Linked DNA regions of Homo sapiens: region 2 is linked to region 1. The links are contacts of gene promoters, found by promoter capture Hi-C in blood cells and fetal thymus (Javierre and others, 2016). All regions are on one chromosome and are shown on one strand. The core of a region is centred on a gene start or on the middle of the fragment in contact, and the rest is flanking DNA. Distances in the headings are between cores, read along the strand shown.

What was found. The method cuts DNA at HindIII sites, captures the fragments that hold promoters and counts their contacts. A CHiCAGO score of 5 or more calls a contact.
Region 2: a contact is called between a fragment that was not itself captured here and the fragment with the promoter of DCD in region 1, in 1 of 17 cell types (activated CD4 T cells). The highest score is 5.9, in activated CD4 T cells.

What each region holds. Positions count from the first base shown.
Region 1 is chr12:54,645,723-54,650,527 of GRCh38, forward strand. It overlaps DCD (dermcidin), which reads right to left and starts at 2,643. Exons shown (of 5, transcript NM_053283.4): 1 at 2,524-2,643; 2 at 1,399-1,437. The coding sequence starts at 2,581. The HindIII fragment of the contact is 3,742 bases long and covers 818-4,559 here.
Region 2 is chr12:55,173,269-55,178,062 of GRCh38, forward strand. No RefSeq gene overlaps it. Among named protein-coding and RNA genes, the nearest start is that of OR10A7, 45 kb to the right of the region's middle. RefSeq lists an enhancer at 1-92. The HindIII fragment of the contact is 1,969 bases long and covers 1,480-3,448 here.

The DNA.
Region 1 (4,805 bases), core at 1,393-3,892:
AGTGAGAGGAATAATAGCTATTTCACTCTTTCCACCCTGGTCGGGGAGCAGGTGGTGCTTTTACCCCCTCAAGGTCTGGCTTGAGGATAGCTCCCTCTCTCCCAATTCCTCTAGAGCTTGACTTTCATGATGTGTTAGGTTCTTTAGCATCCCTCAAGCTTTTTCCTGCTGCCTCCAAGACTTTTCCTGCTCCTCCAGGGCCCTTTTCTAGAGTAGATTATGGTTCAGGGAAAAGTAAAGTCATTTTGGCAGAAAGATCACCTTAAAGAGACTCCCCCTAGTTTTCATCCCTTATACCAGCCCCCTAGTGTGGGGAGGTTTTGCAGAGGGCACTAGCTTCTCTCTTCTAGGCAGGTTGGTGGATGAGGACAGAAATTTGGCAGTCTCTGAAGGGGGCTTCTGTAGCTGTAAACAATCCATTTGTTTATCTGGAAAATCAAAACTTCTGTTATTGCATTGGTGTGAAACGCTCCAGGGGCATCTGAGAAGACACCAAGGTGCCCGGTGTTCCCTCTGGGCTTTATGTGAGAAGGCAGGGAGGGTGCAGGTGTGTGCTGTGGTTGGGGCTCGCAGTGCAGTGAAGATGTGCAGAAATACAGTTTATCTTTCTGCCGTTAATTATCCAGAGTGTGTACATGGCTGGGGAAGTAGAAATGAATGAGAATTAGATCTCTCTCTCAGGGGCTTACAGTCTAGGAAAAGAGACAAAACTGCTATATATGGGAAGCCCAGAAGAGGGAGGGATGAAAGGAGAGACTGGGACAGAGGCACCATACACACCAGGCAGGGAGGGCTTCAGAGAGCAGCTGGGACTTGAAGCTTGTTAGAGCACGGACAGGTAGGGGTTGAAAAGGTACCCAGGAAGAGGAACGTTGGGTAGTAGAAAGTTACTCATGCTGTCTGATGAAACAAATGTATAACGTTTGATGTGGAGAATGCAAGCAGTGGAGTCTAGGGAAATTATATTTGAAAAGTACCCTGGATCTAGATCATGGATACCCTGAATGTCAGGCTAGGAGGTGAGAGTTTCGTGATGAGAAATGGGAAACCACGTGAAAGGTTTTTGAATTGAAATTGTTGGTGAAGGTGGGGCAGATGAAAACCTCTGAACCCATCTAATGTGAAGTTCCTCCTCTTGCTCAAGAAAAGTATTCTTTTCTTTCCCATTTTTCTTACTCCACTTCTACTTCCAGACAGGGCCACCCTTTCCCCCATGCTCTGTCCTTCTCCAGTGCATGAGTCTCTCAGGAAGTCTCCCTTCTCCATGTCTCCTAAAAGTCGGCCTCCCAACTCTCCTTCCCCGGACCCCCCTTCTGCTTCTCTGACTTCCTCCACTCATATCCCAAGTCATTAACCCTCCCACCCAGGACTGGGGCAGGAGGAAGAGAAAGGACTCACGGTTCCCCGATCCTGGGGCAGAGGCGGCCTCTGGATCATCTGCAAAGGAGGGAACAGTGACCATGTCAAGTAGGGCACAGTTGCATGAGCTGTATCCAGCCAGGGCTGCCTAGAATTCCCAGGCCTCTAATCTCAGGAGTGTGGCAGTGGACAGACAGGAGAGAAATCTCTGCTTCACAAGGGGCCCACTAGAAATGCTTTTTGGTATCTCAACCAAATCCCTCTCTCTGTTATCCTCCCTAGACCTAGGCTACTCAGAACATCCCTATGGAAATGGAATCATTCTCTGACTCTCTTCTATGTCTTAGATGTCCAAGTTTCATAATGAAAGTTGAAGGGGCATGACCACGAGGGCATGACCACAGCACCTGCTCTAGTGACAGGGCAGGAGTTGTTCTGATTGTCACCTGATAGAATGACCTCAGAAGGACCTTCCCTCCATTTCTTTATTCTTCCAAAAGCATGAATGAAGCACGCATTATGCACCAGACATGGTGTTAGAGGCTAGAGATACAGCTGTGAGGAAGACAGACAGTGTAATTGCTCGGGGAAGCTGACAGTCAATGGGGGATTTGGAGGAATTAACATAATTACATAAACAATTATTTAATTACATTTGTGATAGTGCTAGGAAGGAAAAATACAGGAGGCAAGAAAATGCAAAATAGGGGCCAAAATGATTCTGGGGCTTCAGCAAGCCTGCTGTGAGGAAATACATGGACACAGAGAGCTAGCAGGGCGGACACTTGGAAATTGAGTAGGAAGGAGGTTGACGTGGGTGGGTGAAATAATGGGCAGGGGAAAAGACAAGAGGATGTGCAAAAGTCTTGGCAGTGGGAAATGGCTTGGTTCATTGAGGGGAAAAAGAATGCCAGAGTGGTTGGAGCAGAGTGGGCCAATCACAGACTGAGAGGAGAGGCAATGGAGAGCCAGGCTGGGGCCACAGGGCTCCTGGCTTCCTCTGACCATAGAGTCCCTGTGTGGAGAACCTAGTGGGAGGCAGGAGTGGGCTACAGAGACAGACTTGGGTGAACTGCCTCTGGCGAGGAGGGGAAGGGGAAATGAAGGCAGGGCCCAGTCTTCAGGGGACTATATGGTTGGGTGTCGGGGAAGAGCCATACTCACAGGCACAGACCAGGGCTCCTGCCAGAGCTGTCAGGAAGAGGAGAGTCATGAACCTCATGCTTCTGTGTGCTGGAGTGGGTATGCCACCAAATCCTTGGAGATCTTGGGATCTAGGGTGTCAAGACTGCCTCTCTGGGCCTTTTTTTAAGCATGACAGGGACCAATGGGAACCAGTCTTCCAGTGGTGTGTTCTCCTCCTCCTCTTCTCCCACCTCAGAGCCACCTGTTAAGTCAACAAAGGCTGGCTGGGGCTGGCTGGTGCCCGCCTTCCCTGCAGGTAGGTCCTGGACAGCAGCTCTGGAGTTGGCACTGTCCTGACTGGCATCCTTTTCCTGCCTCTCCCCTTCCCATCTCGCTTGTCCCTGGGCTCCCATCTCTGATTGCATCTGGGGTCCTGGGGAAGACTGTGAGAGGTTTCTGGAGAGGGCCCTGGCAGGAGGGCTGTGCCCAGAAGGCTCTCCTTCCACCTGGAAACAGAAGGGGGGCCCAAGATGTCAGATCCAGCCTCCTTAGGAGAGAGTGGGGGTGGCTGAGGCTTCCCTTGAGTGGGTTAAGCCCACCCTAGGGGGCTGCCCTCACAGCATTTGGGGATCCCACCTGACTAAGGTCCAGAGAGGCTGATGTCCTCTCTAGGGGTCTCCATGTGGTAACCAGAGCTTCCCAGCCTCAGTAGGCCCTGACCAGGGTGTCTTCAGTCCCAGCTAATGATCCTCTACCCCAGAAAATTCTCCTGGTAAGTTAACCAGAATATGAAGTCAGTTCCCAGTTTGCCCTTCATATAGGGGAGGGAGGCCAGTGGTGTGGATAATCCAGAGAAGTGGAGAATCCAAAGGTGCTTCTCTCTGCCTCAGAATCCCTTCCTGCGGACTTGTGTTTTCTTCGAAATGGCAGAAAGTCCTGGAGATGTGGGTTTATGACTCGATTTTGTTGTTTACTAGCTGTGTGGCCTTCAGAGAGGCAATTTACCTGCCCCACTTCAATTGTTTTTCTTTCTTCTTTTATTTTATGGTAATATTTAAGGTGTAACATGAAGTTTTGATATACATGTATTTAGTGAAATGGTTACTATAATCAAGCAAATGAACACATCCATGATTTTACATAATTAGCCTTTTGTGTGTGTGTCTCTCTGTATGTGTGTGTGTGTGTGTGTGTGTATGTGTAAGAGCACCCAAAATCTGCTCTTCCAGCAAAAATCCCAAATTCAATACAGTATTATTGACTCCAGCTCTTGTGTTCCACTTCAGCTGTTTTGCATTTGATGGTGAGAAATGATCATTTTAATCCTACAGGTTTCGTGTGAGGAATACATGTGTCAAAACTGGTCAGCTCCCTCCTCCATCTATTCCAGACCCAAGCTGGGGAGCTGAGGATAACTTGGAACCTTAGTTTCTGCTCCTCACAAAGCCAGTTACTTCCTTGAGATGTCTTCTCTCCACGGAGTGGAGCCTGCCCTTGCCCTGTTCCTGGGACCTTGGTGAAAATGGACTGAGATTTGTTTCCTGAGGTGCTCTGTCTGTGCCAGACACCGTGTTGGACCCAGACAGATAAAGATGAGTAGACTGTGGTCTTGCCTTGAGGGGATACACAGTAGGCAAGGATCTCAGACAGATGAAGGGACAATTGATGGTAGCAGGGGACTCTGTCCTGGTAGACAAAGCATGCTCTTCCTAGCCTATGGGATTGAAGCAAAGTTGTGCTCCACCACTTAGAGGCTGAATGATTTTGGCATGTCACATAATCTCTCTGACTCTCATCTCCACAGTGTGACCCAGGGTACTTGTGAAATTCGAACAGGAATAGCTCAGATCCACTTTCTGGGTCAACTTTCTGGGGCTCTTCCCTGTTCTCTGGATGTCTACCTCTCACCTCCATGGGAACTCAGTCCATCTGAGCTCTCACCATCTCTCCTGTTGTGTGGTTCATTGTGAGACTTTCTTGGCTTTTTTCCTTCAACATACAGACATCTTAAAAATAAGCAAAATGTTCCCTTTATACTCTCCCTATCTAGCTTCTTTCCAATCCTTCTGCAACCAAGCTTTTTGAAAACAACTCCATTTTTTTTTTGGCCTCAACATCCGTGTTTTGCTTTATGTTCTTATCACCCTGTAATGTTTGCACCACCATCCCTGGAACCGAGATACATCCTTGCCAAGGTACTCGGATACAGTCGCCACTTTTCAGCCTTTATCTTATCTGATCTCGGTGGGCTCTGACACTGTTAGAGCCACTCATCTTTTGAGGTGCTGGGGTTTTCTTTCTTTCTCTCCTTTTTTGGGCCA
Region 2 (4,794 bases), core at 1,214-3,713, 530 kb after region 1:
CTGAAGGTAGAGAAAACTGTGACCCTCCACTTCCGTTGCCTTGGGGATTGCGAATGTCAACCTCAGTCCAACCCAGTCTTTTCTATGGCATTTTCCTTCTTTTGGGGGGGATTGTAATGGCACCTATCTTTTCTTTTACAATATTGGGGGTGTTCCACCACCACCCCAATGGTCACAGGCATGCATGCAAGACAGATAGGTGAGTGGTGACTCCCTGCCCACCTCCACCCAGCTGGGGCTGGGGCACCTGGCCCAAGGGCTCCACACAGCACGCTGGCCAGCATTCCCAGCAGCATCGAAAAGTTTCTCTCCAGTCCAACAGCAAGTAAAATTTCTCTCCCTGTTGGAGGAACACATTTGCATAAGAATAGGAGATTCTTCCCCCAGGCATCTTTCCAACTCTGTACTTAAGATGTTTTATTTTCTTTTCTTCACCCCATCAGCACTTAACACATCCCTGCACTTTAAGCTGTATTTTTTCTTTTCTCCACCAGGTCAGGAGTTGGTGGGTTGGTGCAAAAGTAGTTGTGTTATTTGACATTACTTAGCATGATGGGGACCATGAATGCTTTTGCACCAACCTAATAACACGCTCCTGCAAGTAGAAGGGACTTCTCTATGCCAGAGGCCTTTTTTCCTTTGAGAAGACATTATACTAGGCCAGGACTCAGTACACAAGACACCCTTTTCTCTCTCTTGTTGGAGGAGGACTCAGTTCCACAGCTTCACCTTAGCATTTGGCTTGTAAAGTGTCCACACAACCCGCCGAAGCAGTTCTTTTGTCCCAAACTCAATTCCAAGCTTTGAGTCGAAGCCCTAGGAAAGAAAACTCAATCTGGGGTATAGTGTTGAATAATATTCTATTGTCTAAATGTGCTACACTTTCTTTATCCATTCACCTACTGAAGAGCATCTTGATTGCTTCTGTTTTGGTAATTATGAAAAAGGTGTTACAGATATCAGGGCATAGGTTTTTTCGTGGATATAAGTTTTCAACTCTTTTGGGTGAATACTACACAGTGTGATGGCTGGGTCATATTGTAATAGTGAATTTAGTTTTGTAAGACAAGGCTAACCTGTCTTTCAAAGTGGCCGTGCCATTTTGCATTTCCATAAAAATTAAATGAACATGCTTGTTGCCCTATATCCTCACCAGTATTTTGCATTGCCAGTGCTCTGGATTTTGGCCATTCTAATAGATGTGTGGTAGTATCGTGTTATTTTAGTTTGCATTGCCCTGATGACATTTGATGCAGAACATCTTTTCATATGCTTATTTGACATTTGGCTATTTTTTGTGTGTCTGTTAAGCTATGTGGCCTATTTTTAATATTAAGTTATTTGCTTTCATATTGTTGAGTTTTAAGAGTTGTTTGTATATTTTGGTAACAGTCCTTTATCAGATATGACTTTGCAGAAATTTCCTTTCAGCCTGTGGCTTGTCTTTTTATTTTGCTGACTTTTTTTTTAACTGTACAAAGCTTACACATTAGTCAGATTTATTACTAAATATTTAATGTTTTGAATCTATTCAGTGGTGTATTTTTAGAAGAATCCAGTTATACTCTAACTCTCCCAGAGTTATATTAGAAATACCATATAACACTCCCAGAGATATGTTAGAAATAACATATCTAAACTCATCATGAGGCCAACATTACTTTGAAAACATATCCATCTCTCATGAATATAGCTACAACAATTCTTAATAAAATTTCAGAAAATCAAATCTGCAAATATAAAAAGAGGAAACATTAATGTTACCACATTATAAGAAATCAATGTAATTCTCAAGGCTACACTAGATTCAAAATATGGAGAAGTATATGTAAATTCTATCTCTTTGTAAGGATGAGCTGGCAAATATCAGAGTGATATTTGCAATTAATCACAAGATAGTATCCCCCTGTTGAAGGGTGTGAAGTAACACACTAGAAGGGGCAGGTTGATGAATATAGAGCCATTGTATAATCTCCACCCTTTTTCCTTAATACTCCAATTTTTTGAAAGAGAAATAAACTTATAGCTTATTCAGGTTGCATTGATTTTGTGATTTATGATCCTCATAATTTTCAAGAACAATCCTTGTAAATATGCTATTTCTGTGTGGATCCTTCCTCCACTCCTTGATGCTGGATGCTTCTCCCATACCGCAGATTTGAGGTTTACTTCCCAGAAAGTGTAAAGCGGAGGGTTTCTAGACTTGGAGACATAATGTACAGAAGATGAGTGGTTTTATACCAAAACTATGCGACTAAATTCCATATTCTGAACATATGTGAGATGTCCCAGGACTCCTCCCTCATTTGACAATTTTTGCTTCACATATTTTAATGGTCTGTGATTAAGTGTGTGAATGTTTATAATTGTTTTATCTTCTTGTGGTATTAAAACTTTTATTGATATGTCCTCCTTTTTTCTTGTTATTTTTAAAAATTTAAAGTCTATTTTTCTGATGTTAGTGGAGCCACTCCTGCCTTCTTTTAATTACTTTTCTATCATTTCACTTTTAATCTATTTCTCTCTTTAGATCTAAAGTGAGTTCCTTGTAGGAAAGTATATAGTTGTGAACCATGCTTCAAGGGGTTAAAAAAATTAATAAATTCTTGGGCTTACTGCATGGCAGATAAGAAGAGAAACAACTTACTAAAACTGTGCCCCGAAAGTAAGAAACTAGTAATTAATAGAAATTATTGAGTTTTCAGGATAGCAGACAAGAAAATAAACAACTTGATGAAATGCTGAAACTCTCTCCGCTGTAAGATAAAGAAAAAATTTGCTGAAGTCAGTTGGAACCAAGACGGCTGTATTAGTCCATTTTCATGCTGCTCATAAAAACGTACTTGAGATGGGGTAATTTATAAAGAAAAAGAGGTTTGATGGACTCACATTCTCAGTCTCACAGTTCCACATGGCTGGGGCGGCATCACAGTCACGGTGGAAGGTGAAAGGCACAAGCAAGCAAAAGTGGTTTCTCCATTATAAAACCATCAGATCTCATGAGACTTATTCACTACCACAAGAACAGTATGGGAGAACCACCCCCACAATTCAATTATCTCCCACCGGGTCCCTCCCGCAACATATGGGAATTATGGGAGCTACAATTCGAGATGAGATTTGGGTAGGGACACAGCAAAACCATATCAGTGGCCAACTAGAGTTTGCACATAATGAGCTTGCTGATGTCACCACAGCCTTAATTTCCGCTGCATGTTTTATACTAACTCCCCCTGAATTTGCATATGCAATGCATGAGGTAGTATGAAGAGATAACTGCACATACCAAAGGACTTTCCAGACCTCCTCTTTCCTTTCATCAATCACCTGCTAATTTCAGAATTAACACCCTAAACCTTTTCTAATGAGATTACTGCCTTAAAGCCAGCACAGGGAGGAAGACTTGAGCTCAACTCCTGTCTCCTTATGAGTCAACTTGGCAATAAAAAGCTTTTCTTTTCTCAAAAACCTGGTGTCATAGTATTGGCTTTTAGTGCATCAAGCAGCAAACCACTTTTGTTTCAGAAAAATTGAATCTTTTTTTGTTTTTTTCTTCCATTCCGTCAGTATCTATTTTTTTGATTGGAGAGTTTAATCATGTACATTTAAAGTAAGAATGGGCTTATTTCTGTTACTTTATTATTTCTATATGCCTTATAGTTTTTAAAAATCCTATTTTTCCTGCAGTACTTTTTTTTGGTGTTTAGCCTTTTTTTTTTTTCTACTGAAACATTTACATCCCTTTCCCATTTAACTTTTTCATGTATATTCTTTAGTTATATTTTTGTGGTTACCATGGGAATTACCTCTAATATTCTAAACTTTTAATATTTATACCAGCTGATTTAAATTTATACCAGCTTCAATAACACACAAATTCAATAACATACAAAAGCTCAGCTTCTTTAACAGATCCATCTCCACACCTTTCAGTTGCTGACATAAAATTACATTTTTATACATCGTGTTTCCAAAAAATAAACTAATGATTTTCTAATGCATCGACCTCTTAAACATTTTTCTAATATATTATTCTCTTGAATCATGTAGAAAACAAAAAGTGGAGTTACACATCATTGTTACAATAATACTAGCTTTTATAATTTCCTATGTATTTACTTTTACTGAGATTTTTACCTTTTTATATGGCTCTGAATTACTCTCAAGTGTCTTTTATTTCAGCACTTTAGCATTTCTTGCAGGGGCAGGTCTAGCGGTTACAAACTTCGTTGATTTTTATTGTCTGGAAATATATTTATTTTGCTCTCATTTTTGAAAGATAATTTTACCAGATATATGATTCTTGATTGACAATAGTTTAAAAAAATCTTTTAGCACTTTTAATATATCAACCCACCATTTTCTGACTTCCAAAGATTCTGATAAAAAGTCTTATAATCTTATTAAGTATAACTTTTAAGTGACTAGCCCCTTTTCTCTTGTTGATTTCAAAATTCTTCTTTGGCTTTGTCTTTCAATGGTTTGATTATAACATTCCTCAGCTGAGTCTCTGAGTTCATTTTTCTCGGAGTTTGTTGAGCATCTTGCATGTTTATGTTCATGTTCTTCACCAAAGTTGGGGTTTTTGGCCATTATTTGTTTGTGTATTCTCTCTGCCTCTTTCTGTCTTCTCCTCCTGGAACTCCCATAGTGCATATGTTTGTCTGCTTACTAGTGTCCCACAAACTGTTTAGGATTTTTTCACTTTCCTTCAGTCTATTTTCCTCTTTCTCAGATTGAATAATTTTTATGGCTCTATCTTTAAATTTGTTGATTCTTTCTTCTGCCTGCTCA